Regions from separate parts of the Homo sapiens genome. Here regions 2, 3 and 4 are each linked to region 1. Evidence: promoter capture Hi-C in 16 types of primary human blood cells and fetal thymus (Javierre and others, 2016). All regions are on one chromosome and are shown on one strand. Each heading gives the region's core, a stretch centred on a gene start or on the middle of the fragment in contact. The rest is flanking DNA. Distances are from core to core; before and after follow the strand shown.

Region 1 (4,085 bases), core at 436-2,935:
ATCCGCCGGCCTTGGCCTCCCAAAGTGCTGGGATTACCGCGCCTGGCAGGTTAATTCTTTAGATAGGATGGCAAAATAAAATAATAAAATTTCAAATAAGGAAATCAAGACCTCACAAAAAATCATGACAAAAATAAGAAATAAGAAAAGTGAATTTCTGGGAAAGGAGAGAGATAAGAATACAGGAATTTCTATGCTTATATTTCCAAATTAGCACAGGGCAACAGATTCTGATTTTAGAATAATCACCCACACATCATATAGTTCACGGGTACTATTTACAATAAGTAGGCGGGGTGCGGTGGCTCAGGCTTGTAATCCCAGCAGTTTGGGAGGCTGAGGCAGGTGGATCACCTGAGGTCAGGAGTTCCAGACAAGCCTGGCCAAAATGGCGAAACCCCGTCTCTGCTAAAAATACAAGTTAGCGTGGTAGCTTGCGCCTGTTGTCCCAGCTACTCGGGAGGCTGAGGAAGGAAAATTGCTTGAACCCGGGAGGCGGAGGTTGCAGTGAGCCGAGATCGTGCCACTGCACTCCAGCCTGGGCGACAGATCGAGAATTCATCTCAAAAAATAAAATAAAATATAAATAAATAAAATATAAAAAATAAAATAAATGTAAAATAATAACTAAAATTGTTTTAAGTAATGCTAGATCTGGGACCGAATTCAGCAGAAAAGGCGAGCGAATGAGATTTTGCTACACTGAAGTTTCTGAGTATCTACAAAAGTCTTAATTATGAACTAATTTTTTTCTTACATTTCAACGTACTCCAAAAATACGTCAGAGGCCTTAAAGAAAATTTTATTTGTTTTTGTATGCAGTGGGGGCAGGCGGTCTTAAAAAGTAAAGTATGTATGAAAGTAGAAGGAACTCATAGTGACATAAATGTTTTAAATTCTTTGGAGAAATGTGTTTGATAAGGCAACATTGTTATAAAAGTAGAGGTCTTTGTTTCTCAGTTGGAAATTGGTCAAAACTTTTAAAAGGCTTCTTGAAATAGAATTGTTTCTTAGGAAATCTCATTTCTATGCTAAGACCAAGTCAACATAGGGGGGAATTCGACGCGATCTGAGGCGTAAGTCAAAGCAGATCATGAACTCTTGCAGCAAACCTGACCTACAAGCTTGCCCCCGACCAGCATAGACCACGAGCTGCAAGGGGTCTGAGACAGTAAGGCCTGAAGTTCACCGAACTCAGTTTCAAATACCTGTGGTCCCCCCAAGAAGGGAGACACGCTCTTCCTCTCGGGTGCTACAACTGGCGCTGGGGAACGGTGATGCTGGACCGAAAAGACAAGCGCAGCCAGGCAGGCCACCGCGGCCAGCTTCAAGCTGACCCGGTATCCCCGCGGCCGGACCGCCGGTCTCAGAGGGAGACACAGAGCGGACGAGTCACCGAGACAACGCGGAAAAAACCGCCCCGCACGCCGGAGGATAACGAGAGCTGCCGGGCTGACGTTACCTCCACCCACTGGGCCGCGACGTCCCCATCGGCTGGGCGAATTTGCAGCCGGGCGTGCAGGCACTGCTGTAGGAGCGCCCGGGCCTGAGGAATCCGGCTACCCTCAGCCATGGCTTAAGCCAGCGCCGCGGCCGGACAGTTACTAGGCCATGTGTCGCTGGCCCCTCCCTCGACGCGCTGGCGGGGCAGACGAGGCGGGGCACGACGAAGGGCCTGCGCCGATTGCCCAGTGGCCCCGCCCTTAGGAGGGCGGGGCCTCGGACTGACTCTCGAATGTCCCGGATGTGCGGTCTTGGAGGCCGGCGTAGCGCTAAGCTTCTCGGCAGCACCTGCCCAACTCTGTAGAAGGCGCTCAGTGTATACTTTTATTAAACGATTGAAAAGACTCGTTAAATCTCTTTCCTACAAACCTTTTAAGAAACATTTTTCACCTCAGAAAGCTTAGGTTCCAACTGTTGAAAAATTTTAAATCTGCTTGATTTAAATTCATGTTATGCCCATATGAAAGTAAGTAAACAAATAATCGAATCATAAAGCAAGCGGAGATGGAACTAAAAGCTATATATACATCCTTCAAAATTTTCCTTATTCCAATCAATAAAAACAATGCTGCCTCCTCTATCGGGAATGCCATAAATTATTCTGATTCCACAGTTGTGAAAAGGTATTGGTATGCTATACGAATACACATTCTTTAGAAGATATCCTTGTTAAAAATGTTCTTATCCAAGAAAGTATGATTGTTAATAACTTAGCCCGCTACTAATACAAAAATAAAACAGCTTATTCTGATGCATATGACGTAAATTCTGTGATGCATTTTCTGGAAGTACATATTAGAATGTAAATAAAACTAAACAAGGGCTTGATTTTCTTTCCCATGTAACGTATTCCTTAAACATGCATCAGATTAGCATTTATTTGTCTATGGGCTTGGATGGTTTAGATGAGGAATAATAGTGTTACCCTGATTGCATTACCCAGGTCATTGATTTGGGCTCAGTTGACACAATGTGCCTATACATTCGGATCTGTTGTTTAAAAAGATGACATCACTGACAGTGTTGCTATCCATACAAAGTAGTGTGACTGAAGAAAATAGTCCATGCATAATCAACAGTCCTTTGTACACAAAATCGAAGCTGCTTGTTTGCTGGTTATCTTGCAGCCAGGTTTACACTTTTAGTAAAAACAGAAAGCAAAATCTCACATGATCTCTGATTGTTGCATTGCAGGGATTCCAACAGTTGTTGACATTTGTCTGCAAAGCACAGACAAGTTGAATTGCTTCATGTCTGCACCTTTATGTCATTATAACTACTGAGTCTCTTTTCTCTCCGGCTCTCAGATTCAGATTTTACAGGCCTGAAAGAAACTTTGACATACAAACCATTAGCTATGTCCCAGAATAAGAAAAGACTTTGGTGTCCATTTGTATGTGGCTGCAGGAAATAGGGAGGTCTATAGAGAATAGGTTATGTGGTTCGCAGAGATCTTTCTACAGAGAGGGTTTCTTTAACAAATTGGGAAACCCTTCCTGTGAGTAGAATAGATGGAGTATGGATGGTAATGGTTAGCTTCTCAAAAATCACTAATTACTTTAAACCCTCCTATTGAGTGAGGATCTCGTGGACATTGCTGTAGGTACTGTAATAGGCTGTGGCTCACTTATTTTTTACTTCTATTTGCAGAAGGCTATAGAGAGTGGCCACCAAAGACAGCATTTCCTTTCTGTATTTTATTTTTTGAACACTTAGTTTCATTCTGCAAATAATTTAAGAAGGAAGGACATGCATGCAATAAAATAGTAAAATGTGAATTAAAGCATTAGAAATAAAGAAACTAGAATTATGTCAGTAAGCCACAATGGGGGAAATTGAAAACAGGTAAGACAGTGGTTCTCAACTGGAGTGCTGAGATGATATAGTATGCAGCAAAATTTTCACAAATGTATAACTTTAATTTTTGTTATAAAACAATTATGTTCATTGTATGTAGTATTGAGGTGCTGTAGGTTGTACAATTTGTTTCAAGTTGGAACTAAAGGCAAAGCATAGCATTAAGTTGGCTTTACAAGAAGATGGTGGTTCACTGGAATGTGAGAGAGCTTTGCCTTGTCATTGTATGAGAAATCATTGAGCAGAGATAATTCTCAAACACCTACAATGCTGAAAGTGTACCATATGGATAGGGGATTAATTGTGGATGGGTTCTATGTCCTCTGAGATGGTACAATAACTAATTTAGTGTTATTTTACCTTCTTTAATTCATTTAAGTTGGCTGCCCTAAATTCTGGCATTCAAAGTATTTCACAAACATGAAAAGTTTGAGAACCATTTCTAAAAGATTCCTTAGAGTTGATGCTAAGCTTCCTGGTTGTAAATAGGAGAGGATAGGGAAGGGCAGTATAATCTATTTCATAGTTCTAGGGATAAGCAGAGCTTTTCCTCAGATTTAGCTCTCAGCTGAGCCTCTTACCTGAGACTTTATATAGGATATGTTAATAAATACAAGTGCAGGCCTGGCGAGGTGGCTGATGCCTGTAATCCCAGCACTTTGGGAGGCTGAGGTGGGTGGATCACGAGGTCAGGAGATGGAGACCATCCTGGCTAACACGGTGAA
Region 2 (4,085 bases), core at 502-3,001, 790 kb after region 1:
TTAGGTCCTGCAAATCTCTAGCTAAGACTTGCCCAAACAAATGGGGACTATCTCTGAAGCCTTGTAGAAGGACTGTCCAGGTAAGCTGTTGACTCCTTCCTTTTTCATTTTCCCACTCAAATGCAAATAGAAATTGGGAAGTTGGGTCTCAGAGGGTACAAAAGAAAGTGAGTTTGAGATCTAAGACTGAAAACCACTGAGCATCTGAAGGACTTCTGCTAGAATTACATATGGGTTGGGGACTATTGGGTATATAGAGACTACTGCCTCTTTTTTGATTTGCAGGCCCTGGACCATCCTGTATTCTCCATTGCTCTTTTTAAAAGGTAAGATAGGCATGTTACAGGGTGAATTACAGGGTAGTAGTAATTCATGTTCTAGAAATTTTTCAATCAGCAGCCAAAGTCCCTCTTTGGCCTCCTGCCAAAGAGGAAGCTGACTTCTACAAGGATAGCTAGAAGGATCTTTAAGCTGAATTGCTACAGGCATTGCCATTATGGTGTTTCCTGGTATTCCTGGGGCCTGGACCTCTGGATTATTGGGAAGGTCTGTGGGCAGCTCATCCTTGTGTGTGGTTTCCTTGAGGCATAAGATCGCATTTGGAAAGGGAGTGTTGGCCCTGGAGGAAAGATTAACTGAGCCCTGAGTCTACGCAAAATATCTCTACCCAAAAGGGGCAGAGGACATTCTGGCAACACTAAAAATGAATGAGCAAAGACAGTTTTCCCCCATAGGCAGCATGGAGGAAGAGTAAACCTCTGGGTTATGGGTACTCCATTTACCCCCATCACCTGGCGGATTTGGAGGATTTGGAGGATAATTGCCAAGGAAAAGAGATAAGCACCGAGCAGGCCACTTCCATGTCCAAAAGAAAACTTATAGTACTACCTGCCACGTCCAAAGCAGCCCTTGGCACTGTCCCTTCAATAGTGATGTTCAATCCGGGAGCAGACCAGAGCATAGGGCCCCTTTAGCTCAAGGCCATCAGGGTTGAGATTCTGTCCCTGGGACCCTTCAGCCCTCAGGGCAGTTCTGTTTCCAGTGGCAGAGCTTGTGGCAGAGGGGGCAAGCCGCGCAGGGCTTCTTCCCTTTGTCCCATCGGGGCAGTTTGCCTTCCAGTGGCCTGGCTTCCCACACTGATGGCAGTTACCTGGGAGAGTATTCTGAGTGCAACCTGGAAAGGGCTGGCAGACTTGTAGGACAACCAGTAGAGCTTTTCCTTTTGCCTCTCATTTTGCTGAGCCCTTTCCTTTTCCTCCTGGTCCTGGTTGTAAAAGACCAAGGAAGCTATTTTAAGGATGTCAGGTGTAGGGGTGTTGGGGCCTAGTGCTAGTTTTTGGAGTTTCTTCTGAATATCTTGAGTTAGGAAACTTGAGTTAGGAAACGGCCCTTTAGGACCAGTTACCCTACTTGTGTCTCTAGGTCTAGGTTAGTATGTTTCACTAGGGCCTCTTATAGCCTCTCTAGGAAAGTGGTGGGGTTTTCAAGAGGGCCTTGATTTATTAAGGCAAATTTAGTATAGTTCACAGGCTTTGCTCTGCTAGTTTTCAATCTTCTACCAGACAGAGAAACATGTGGTTCCTTGCCCACATACCCCACTGGTTATTGTATTCCCAATTGGGGTTGACCTGGGGAACTGTGGTGACCCCACAGAGTAGCCACCAGAGTCAGTCATGTACATTGTGTTTACAAATTGTTGGGCTGCCTCCATAACGTAGTCGTGTTCTCCCTTAGACAGTGTTTACCCTAGTATGACTGAGAGGTCCCTCCAGGTGAGTTCAAATGTTAAGCCCAGTTTACAGGAACCCTTTGATGTATTTGTCAGGGTCCTCCAGAAACTTCCCTAGTTCCATTTTAATTTGGCTCAGGTCTTGCAGTCAGTCTGGACTCTGGTGGGTACACTAGGGTCATTAACCTCCTGAAGGGGGCATACTTAAGAGGGTGGGGTCCAGAGGATGGCCCTGGGTAGGGAGGGGAGAGCACCAGGGCTGGGAGACTTGGATATAATAGGGTAGAAGGGGCAGTGGGGTTTGTGCTAAGCTCTGTCCTTGGTTCTTCTGGGGCTTGAGCCCTGGGTAAACCTTATAAAAGGTCTCCCAAACCAACCAGAGGGGGCTGCCTGACTATGGCTGCTATCATCCCTGGATCCATTTTATAAGCCCAACAAAGGTCAGGGTTATTTTCTAGAGTCATGAAGGCCTGTACATAGGGGATTTTTGTCCCTTTTCCCTGTTAGTGGCAAAACAAATCTAGTTGATAGATTGTACTAAAATGTGTGCTTCCATTCGCTAGCCAAGATTCCTAGTCCTGGAGCTTGTATTCAACCCAGGCTGTGTTATAGAAAAATATTAACCTTTTCTGTGTTACAGAAAAATATAAATCCAAACCTTTAGCGTTTGGGGGTCAAACTTTTCCCTGTTCTTGCGGATGCTTCTGAGGGGTGTGTCCTGTGGTATGGAGACATGATTATCCATCTGTGAAGAGAGAACAGAGGAGACAAAAAGGAAAAAGAAGGCATACCCTCTTATTTCCCTGTCATCCTTTCCTGAACAGGGCATCCCCCATTCATCCTTAGGGTTCTGAAATGAACCAGTCTTACCAGGTACCCTTAACCTTGATCCTGTCTCATCACAATTACCCACTTGAGAACAGAAGAGATAGCAGAGTAAATAGGGACCCCCTATTCATCTTTGGGGTTCTGGAATGAACTATTCTTACCAGGTACTACTAACCTTGACTTCACCTCTGTTCTAATGGTAATTTGTTCTGTGCCTATAGCCTAGGACCAGCCTTTATCTCTGTCCTATGGGTACTTTTGTCTCTTGTACCTATGACCTTGAGCTGGCCTATATCCTTGTCTCCATGTCCTTACAGTGACTCTCACTTGGAGAATTCTAGCACAAAATGATTATCTCTTTTCTTATAATCCCATTTCCCATGTTTTTTAGTAGATGAGAAGCCTGTTTTTCAGCAAATTACTACAAGGGACTGAATTCCCCTTTCTTTGAATATGACCTTGAAGGTCTTGATGTATATTGAGAGCATGGAAGTGATTAGAGAAATGGAAGAAAATTTGTATTTGGGGTTTTTCATCCTCCCAGGGTAATCTGCAGAACAAATGCTTAAACAGGTAGGACAATCTCTCTGCTCCAGGAGGAAGCAGGAGGAAGCAAGGGGGATACTCACGGAAAGCCTCATATGCTCACAAAAACAGCAGCCCTTGAATTTGAGAGGGCAATATTTGTGTACCTTCTTGACATAAAGGAGGAACCTCCGAAGGACTTGGGGTTTGGGATAAGGGCTCACAGATGGCAAAGGAAGAATTTTCCCTCATTCCAAAGGGTTGCTAACCCCCAAAAAAGCAAGTAGGTGGAGTCCTTAAAGTGCCACAGAGTGAGATCCTATGCAGAACTGCTTGAAAAGCCACCAAAAACTTGGCCCTGGAGCATAATAGGAATGACAAGCGTATGGCAAATCATAAGGAGCTGTCAGAGCTGGGGTTCCAACTGGTGTGTGTCCCATCAGTGAGCCAACAGACATCTGCAAGGGAGCCCATTTCTTCACTGCTGTGCAAGCACAGCAAGAGCTATGGCTGCACGAATAATAGGGAGTGTGTGTTTAAGGCAGAGAAGGAAGTCGTGTCATGTGAAGTGAAAACAGAGAAGAGACAGACTTGCCCCTAAGGCGGACAGTCCTGTAGGTGTACAAGGCCATTTCAGAATATACACAGAGATAACAGGAGAGTAGGTGGTGCAGGCGTTTGGAAAAGAGCCAGTTTTCGTTGAAAAAGCAGAGGAAACCCCAGACATTGCACAGTCTTAGGGTTCAGCCCTATGACTCTTGCAAGCCTCCTGTTCAGGAAGGCCTTTAGTGTCTCAGGTCTACTTGGTGCAGACTCCAAGGTCCTTCCCACCCCCATGAGCCACCCATCAGGGTGAGCTGAGAGATCAGCTCAGTGAGGAGCCGAGCCTCTTTGGCTGAGAGGACTCGTTCTGGGGGTTGCTTAGTAAGCAGGAGAGAGAAACTGAGGAGAGGGAAACCATGTATGGGAGTTGAACACCTTCAGCCAAAGGTGAGGCATAGAG
Region 3 (4,085 bases), core at 532-3,031, 770 kb after region 1:
TTTTTTTAATTTTTAGTAGAGATGGGGTTTCACCATGATGGCCAGGCTGGTCTCGAACTCCTGACCTCAAGCCATCCGCCCACCTCGGCCTCCCAAAGTGTTGGGATTACAGGCATGAGCAACCACACCCAGCCTGAAAGCCAACTTGTACAGGTCTCTTCAGTTGGTGAAGGCATTTGGGCTTCACCCTAAAACAGAGCGGAGTAACAGAAGGGTTTTTAGCAAGGGGTGTGACATGCTAAGATATATATGTTATAAAGATTACTGGGCTTAATGTAAAGAATGGATTGGAAGACAGGTAAGGGCGCTGTTATTGCAATTTGGGGAAATGAGGATTTTGGCCTGAACTAGGCTAGTGAGTGGAGAAAAGTAGATGGATTCAAGAGAGGGAATTGGCAGGATGTGAGGAAGTTTGGGTGAGGAGGAGCAAAGGGTGAAGCATGATTCCCAGGTCTTTGATTTGGGCAGTGATGGAGTGTGGTGCCATCAATAAGACAGGGACCATAGAAAGAAATGGGTGAGGAAAGGTGGTAGAGAAAACAGTGGGTTCAGTTTTCTACAGTTGGAGTTTGAGGAGCTTGTGGGACATCCTAGAGATGTGTAGGTGGCAGTTGGATGAATGGACCTGAAGTTCTGAAGAGAGCTATCAATTGAAGTACAAATTTGGGAGTTTATGATGTAGATATGGGAATAGATATGGGAGTAGATGCATTTTTTCAAGGAAATACCAACATTTATTGTCTTGGCAGAAAGGGAGGTACAAAATAAACCTAACTGTGAGTAGCCAGAGAGCTAGAAGGCAAACACAGAGAGGCATACTTGGGGAATAGAGAATTTAAAGACAGAGGGAAAGGTCCACCTTCCTCACCTTTGGGTCATCCAGTCTCTAGGTTCCTAAATAATTCAGTGTGCTTTTGGTCAGTAAGTCCTAGAATAGGGGGGGGAAAAAGCATATCAAACCACTGCTGTGTGAATGCTATAGCCCTAGGTCATTGGTCTGTTTTATTTAAACATATCTAGGTTCTGCTCCCTCTGAGGATTTTACCTAATGTTAAAGAGAATGAGAAGAAATACTCTTTATACATTATAAAACTATGCTAATAGTAACCAGCAGGGAAATTGACCTATAAATACTCTGAGCACATTAAGGTAAGCACATTTTTTTAAAGTTACGTCTTTTGGCTATGGTCTAATGTGATGATTAGTGAAAATGGAATTGAAGAGTGACAGGAAATATTAATGGCAGGCAGCACACAGTCGTTTGGCCTTAGAAAGAACAACGGACTTTATCTGTTCCCAGAGGGAAAATTTGATGAGTAATGACCTTGATACACATTTTAAACACTCTGACAATGAAGTAATAGGTGCTGCTTTTGCTCTTTGACCAGCAGATTCTCCTTTGCTGCAGTTAGGTGTACTACTTAAAGCTTGTTTAGAGGGCCACCTAAGGGTACAGGCAGAAGCATCACAACATCTATATTTCTGTTATAGGCAGTGATGAGTACTATGAGCCTCTTATAAGAGGCTGCAAGGGGTTGCTGTACCATCAGGCCTACTTTCCTTGGAGAGGGAATAAAGCAAGTCCAAGGTGCTCAAGAAGGTACACTTTCCCAAAACATCCCACTCCCCACGTTGCTGATTAAGATCTAATGATTCACATTTAGATGCCCTTCCACCCCCATCCCCATCCTGACAACACAAAATTTGAGTCAAGCCTCAACCTTGCTAAGTAAACAGATTTGTACTTGTTACTCTTAGCAGCACTGGAGTCTAAAGACAGACTATGTGGGAAGGCAGATTCTTAGTTACCTCCTCCCCAAGCTGTTGCAGGAATTTCAGATCCCTGCTTGCCAAAGCACTTTTATGGGGTTAAGAATTTTTTTGTGTGTGTTGGGGATAGGGGAATGTACAGCCTTGAGTGACTCATGCCCTTCTCTGGGCCTCAGTTTTTCCCTGTTAGGAGGGAAAGGAGCTGTATTAGGGGATCCTTGAGTTTCCCTAAGCCTGGCCTGTATCCCCTCACCAACTGGATCCACGAGCCAGAGCCTGCTTTAGCCAGGCCCATTCTCTGGTTGGCTTGGCTGGCTTTAGAGGGCTGCAAATAGGCAAATCACTATTTGTCAGTCTGTAGAGAGGAAGCTTATTTGCAGTGGGAACACCGTAGGAGGAGATTTCTAAGTTGAAAATGCAGGTACTCCTCCTCTGGGGAATGGAAGAAAGACAAAGAGCCCATTAAGGGTTCTAGAAATCAGAATGGTTAGATTCTTCCTGGCCCTGTCAACGTTTGCCTATTACCCTGGCCTCATCGGTTGGCATTTGCTTGTGTGAAAAGGTTCCAGGTTTAGAGAAAGGGTGTCGGAGGCAGACAAACCTAGCTCTGTCACTTGGTTGTTGTGTGATCATGTATGAATTGCTGGAATTTCTGCACCTCATTTTCTTTTTTAAGGATGTTTCATAGGCCTGCAGGAGGACTAAATGAGATACATAATACATGTGAAACAGGAATGCAGAGCCTGGCATGGGAAGGGGTTACCTCCTTCCTCCTGCAGTCCTTCTCTTCACTTTCATCTTTGCTCACATGTTATTCTCCCTACTGGAAACTCACCTTCAGTGCTCTGTGAGGCCCTCCTGTCTGTGCCAGTGCTCAAGTCCTCCTGGTACCCTAGCATGCATTGCCTCACCTCACATTTTAGTAACAGCCTTCTTATATTCTTTCACTGGTTTTGCCCATCTAGATTACTGCTCTCTGAGGGAGGTATCCTGTCAAATACTGGTAATCTTTCTTCAATTCCTGGTAAGGTGTTAGGTACATAGTAGGGGCCTAAGCAATATTTGAATGAATGATTATAGAAAGAACCAGTTACAGAGAGCAAGAGGGGGCAGTATGGGCAGTGGGTAAGGCCTGTATGGATGCTAAAACCAGCCTGCCTGGGTTTGAATTCTGGTGCTGCCAGTTTTTAGCTTTGCAACTTTAAAAGAGTTGCTGAACTTTACCCCTCAGTTTTCTCATCTGTATAGTGGCAGTGGTAAAAATAGTACCTTTCTCCTAGGGTTATTGTGAAGATTGAGTAAGTTAGTATTTACAGTGTTTAGACCAGTGCCTGGCACTTAATGCTATATAAGAACCCACCATTATTATTTTAAAGATCAGACACGCTTGAGTTGAAAGCCTGCTCTACTACTTACTAATGATGTGACTGCAGGCAGAAATTATTCAACTTCTCTGTGCTTCAACTTCCTTCTCTGTAAAATAGGGATAACCTATCAACGTAAATAGTGATAAATAGAGATAAACTATCAACATAACATGTACTTGATAACTGGTGGCTATTAGAAGCCTGCTTCAGTCTCCTAGAAACAAGAGTTCAATCATGACTGCATGAAGAATCATTGCAGTAGCCCAGGCCCTGTTTAGGAAACTGAAAACCTGGAGCTTACCCTGACTGGGAAGGAGTGAGAAGACCTGAATTAGGAGTTGTGGATGTATTGAAGGAAGGGATAGGGAAGTTACTTTGTGCTGGTTGCTAAGCTGTATCACCAAAATCCTGACCAAATTAAGTCAGTAAAAATATATTTGGAAGGAGCTGGAGACTTTTGCCCATGTGAAATTCCAACACAGGCTCATACCTGCCACCTTTCTGCATATCTCTTATTGTATGAGGTGTTTCTCATGTTTTGTCCTTATGTAGCCAGCTGTGTTACTGTCATGGTGATGCTCCTGGTGTGTGAGAGTGGAAGTATGCCATCCCATCTTCTGCAGGCCAAGTCGGTCTGTTACTCTCATTCTCAGAGAAGGTGAGATTTGCCAGTGCAGAGCTTACATATCTGGAGGTGCCACTTGCCCTCTTCTTCTGAAGCTGCTTTGAGACTCAGAGAATCCTGATTCTAGGGTTCAGTCTATTGATTCTCACTTCTGAAATCTGATTTGATCTTAAGTGATGTTTTAGATTCTAGGGGGATCTAACTTCTGCCAGCAGTGAGGGGCTGACTTCTCTCCACTGTTGAGGACAGAGGCAATCTGAGGGTTATGGTCTCAGTAAGGAACCCCACTTAGTCCATGGGCTTTTCAGGGAGATGTAGGAAGG
Region 4 (4,085 bases), core at 812-3,311, 650 kb after region 1:
TCTGAGTGAAATTGGCTTTCTGTGAAATTAAGATAATTTCTAAGATAGGAAAACCACAATGTCTACTGCAGGCAAGATTTGTATCTTGTTTATAGTTGATCTCCATGGCCTAGCACAGTACTCTGTGTCATAGTGTGATCAGTTGAAGTCAGCATAAATGTATGGCCTTTGTTTTTGTAAAAGAACTGTTCATGTGTTTAACTACAATTTATTTTGACTCAGGAAAACTCATTTTATTCAACAAGCATTTTGGTAAATGCCTACTGTGCCTGAACACTGTTAGAAACTAATATGGGGATGACTTGGTCATTCATTGGCTCTGCTTTCAAGAAATTCAGTCTAATAAAATTGATTTTGCTGAAAATTAAATATGTTTTATATTTTCAACAAGTTTAGCCAGACTTCTGGTTCTTTCTCATATTTCATCTCATCTGGAAAGAATTTACTTAGGCTTTCTTCAGTACCATTTCTATTGCTTTCTTCCTGGGTAACTGGCTAAATTGATCTACCTGGTTAACTAGATCTGTGATGTTTCTATAATTTCTCATAAAGTTAAAATTTGTTTCTTCAGCATTTTTGGTGCTGGCTACACCAATTTATGATAACATAAGTGTGGATATGTAGTGCAAGTATTTCTGGCAGTATTTTACTATTTGCCATTTCTTTGAATTCTGTGTTGTCCATTTGATCATGATTTATTGCTTTTCAAATTCAGATTGAAATGTAATTAGATGGTTAATTTTTAAAGTATATTTCTGATTTATATATTTTGTTAAGACTTAATTGGAAAGATTATGTCAGTGGCATACATTTTCGCTAATTTAAATTTGGCTTTCTATACAAACTTTTTCTTAGTGTTTATAGCAGCGTACTGAATATTTTGTAAAAGCATAGTACAGATTATTGAAGTTACTCATTTCTGCAGCAGATTAATAGTAAATGTTAAGTATGTGTCAAGGAGGCACTTCTGTAACATAGATAATTGTGTTCTTATGTTAATGGACAGTTGTTACTATTGCAAGACTATAGGTAAATTTATAGGTTTGCCAATTTATGTACACCAAAATTTTGTATACTACAAATTGTGTCAATCCTAGGAGAGGTTTTTTACAGTAGATGCAGTGTTATGATTTCTTGCTCTGTAATGTTTTCCTGTCATCTCAGCTAAAGTGTGGATGGAGTACTCAAGTAAATAGGGCTTAATCTGTGACTTTTAAAGAAGAGAAACCCCAGAGCATAGGAGGGTTGCTTTTTAAAAATAGTAGTAATTTTTGATGTTTAGAATCCTTACAACAAAATATAAGGATATGACAAAAGAGATCTTATGATTGTATCGTAGTCAAAATAAAGGGTACAACTTGCATACATTGTATAACAATTGTTTTGAACTTTTTGGAAATTGTTCTTAGCCTTTGAAAATCTGAGTCAAGGTTTGGGTATTTTCCCTAGAAAAATGCACATGCACAAAATTTTACTGGAGTTTTAACGGTTTCAAATACTTTCTAAAGGCCTGTGGATCCCAGTTTAAGAAACTCCTTGTATAAGATGAGAGGGAGGAGGAAGACACTGAAATTTGGGGAAGCTGGGTAGAAATCCACCCATTCACTTGAATAGTTAGTTGCTTTGCTAGAACTTTCTCCAAGTGACTCCAGGTTTATTTTTTGTTAAGTTGTTAATGGCATTAATAAAATATCTGCCACATATATAATATATGTTGAAATGCTTTTTAGGAAGATGTTATCTTAGAGAATAAAGGTTCCTGAGTCAAGGTTAAAATTAGTTTGCCTGATAAGTATGTACAAAAACCTAGACCACATTTATTTACTCTGTTGTTTTTTATTTCCTCTTTTCACCTAGTGTTAGCATAAAGGGTGTGAGAGAGTCTTCACAATGTAAGTTTTCTGAAGTGTGTTTGGACTTTCAGCCAGCACTTACGGCTTTTATAGGCTTAAAAAAGGGATTAAATAAACCTTTAGAGTGCTGGGTCCCCTGAAGGCTTCTTTCTTACACCAGTGTGTTAAACTATAATGTAATGCTGCTTCTCACTGCCTGATCACTTTATATTGTAGTTTAATTTTGTTTTTCTATGTTATAACCTTTCTGAGGGCAGTTATGGTTATCATTCAACTTTGTATAACCTGCAGTATTGTTTCTCAGTCTTGAGTCGTGTATGGACCTTTTTTAAAGTTAAAATTCTCAGGCTTTTCAGAAATATATCTGTAGCTATTTCCCAAACTTGAGTTATTGGTCTTTGTTTTTACTAGTCTAGCACAGTGGCTATCAACCAGGGTCAGTTTGGCCCTCCAGGAAGCATATGGCAATGTCTAGAGACATTTTTGGGTGTCACAACTGGAAGTAGGAGGTTGCTGCTGGCATCTAGTGGGTAGAAGCCAGGGTTACTGCTAAACATTGAATTGCTAAACTGAATTGCAGAATTCACAGGCCATCTTCCACAACAAAGGATTATACAGCCCAAAGTGCCAATAATCTTGAAGTTGAGAAACCCTGGTGTAGGAGACTATGTCTTGAAAAAAATGTCTATGCAGTTCTAGAAGTCAGTCATACAAGGCATGTTTGTATCTGTTCAATAAGAAAGGTAGGGTTTTCCATATAGGTCATAGCGTTTTCTTCCCCAGCCTCACCGTGATTGGGTAAGAATATATTTTCAGGATTATGTTAACTGTGGGCCAGAGCTACATGCTATTGTCATTTATCATACTCGACTGTTTATCATTCATTATTCTGCTATAAAATGTGTTGCTTCCGTTCCATTTTCATACTAGTTGAGGTTGTCATTATTTCTTACCTGCATTATCACAAATACCTTTTTTAAAGAAATAAAGATTCTATTTTGAGCTAATTGTTGATTCATATGCTATTGTTTTTTTTTTTAAAAAAAAGAGAGACCCCATGTGCTCTTTGCCCATTTTCCCACAATGGTAATATCCTGCAAAACTATAGTACAATATCACAGCCAGGGTGTTGACATTAATATGATCTACAGATCTTATTCAGATTTCCCCAGTTTTACTTGTACTAATTTGTACATGTGTATATTTTGTTCTTTGCAGTTTTTCATGTGTATAGGTTTGTGTGTCCCTCCCATAGTCAAGATGTAAAACAGTTCCATCCACTAGCAAATTAACTTGTTTTGTCTTTTTATAACTACATGCTTTTCCTTCTCCTCACCCATCCCTAACCACTGATAGCCACTACTCTGTTTTTCATTTCTATAATTTTGTCATTTCAAGGATGTTATATAAATGGAATCACAGGGCATATAACTTTCTGGGATTGACTTTCATTTACCATAATGCCCTTGAGATTCAGCCAAGTTGTTGCGTGCATCAACAGTTTGTTCTTTTTATTGCTGAATAATATTCCATAATATGGATACATCAGTGTTTTAACCTGTTGAAGGACATCAGGTCGTTCCAGTTTTTGTCCATCTTGAATAAAGTTGTCATGAACATTCGAATACAGGATAAGAAACTGCCAAACTGTTTTCCAGAATGGGTATACTATTTTATTTATTTATTTATTGAGATGGAGTCTCACTTTGTTGCCCAGGCTACAGTGCAGTGGCGCGATCTCAGCTCACTGCAACCTCTGCCTCCCAGGTTCAAGTAATTCTCTGCCTCAGCCTCCTGAGTATCTGGGATTACAGATGCCCACCACCACACCTGGCTAATTTTTGTATTTTTAGTAGAGACGGGCTTTCACCATCTTGGCCAGGCTGGTCTTGAACTCCTGACCTCGTGATCCACCCGCCTCAGCCTCCCAAAGTGCTGGGATTACAGGCATGAGCCGCTGCACTCGGCCTGGGTATACTATTTTAAATCCCTACTGGCAATGTATGATGGATCCAGTTTCTCCACATCCTCACCAATATTTGTGGTGCAGCAACTTTTTAAATTAGGTTTCCGTGTTCCATTCACCATTTTTTTCAAACTGTTATTTATGTTGCTTTCTGGGGGGCAGTGCTAAAATAGAAGTGCCTGATCCCTGTCCGTACAAAGTGTATTTGTAACCTCTGTATAAAGTTCCAAATACGTGAGTTAGGCATCTAAAGCCATTTGCAGTAT

Evidence for each region. Contacts are between HindIII fragments. The CHiCAGO score rates a contact against its expected background, and 5 or more counts as called.
Region 2: a contact is called between a fragment that was not itself captured here and the fragment with the promoter of DTD2 in region 1, in 5 of 17 cell types (total CD4 T cells, M1 macrophages, megakaryocytes and 2 more). The highest score is 8.4, in total CD4 T cells.
Region 3: a contact is called between a fragment that was not itself captured here and the fragment with the promoter of DTD2 in region 1, in 1 of 17 cell types (naive CD8 T cells). The highest score is 5.2, in naive CD8 T cells.
Region 4: a contact is called between a fragment that was not itself captured here and the fragment with the promoter of DTD2 in region 1, in 1 of 17 cell types (naive CD4 T cells). The highest score is 5.1, in naive CD4 T cells.

Annotation. Positions count from the first base shown.
Region 1 is chr14:31,455,821-31,459,905 of GRCh38, forward strand. It overlaps DTD2 (D-aminoacyl-tRNA deacylase 2), which reads right to left and starts at 1,686. Exons shown (of 3, transcript NM_080664.3): 1 at 1,463-1,686. The coding sequence starts at 1,573. RefSeq lists enhancers at 705-1,290, 1,291-1,876, 1,321-1,530, 1,671-1,850. The HindIII fragment of the contact is 653 bases long and covers 1,123-1,775 here.
Region 2 is chr14:32,245,863-32,249,947 of GRCh38, forward strand. No RefSeq gene overlaps it. Among named protein-coding and RNA genes, the nearest start is that of RNU6-8, 45 kb to the left of the region's middle. The HindIII fragment of the contact is 8,217 bases long and covers 1-4,085 here.
Region 3 is chr14:32,229,037-32,233,121 of GRCh38, forward strand. No RefSeq gene overlaps it. Among named protein-coding and RNA genes, the nearest start is that of RNU6-8, 28 kb to the left of the region's middle. The HindIII fragment of the contact is 712 bases long and covers 1,426-2,137 here.
Region 4 is chr14:32,102,597-32,106,681 of GRCh38, forward strand. The region is part of intron 2 of ARHGAP5 (Rho GTPase activating protein 5); the gene reads left to right. Among named protein-coding and RNA genes, the nearest start is that of ARHGAP5, 27 kb to the left of the region's middle. The HindIII fragment of the contact is 5,331 bases long and covers 1-4,085 here.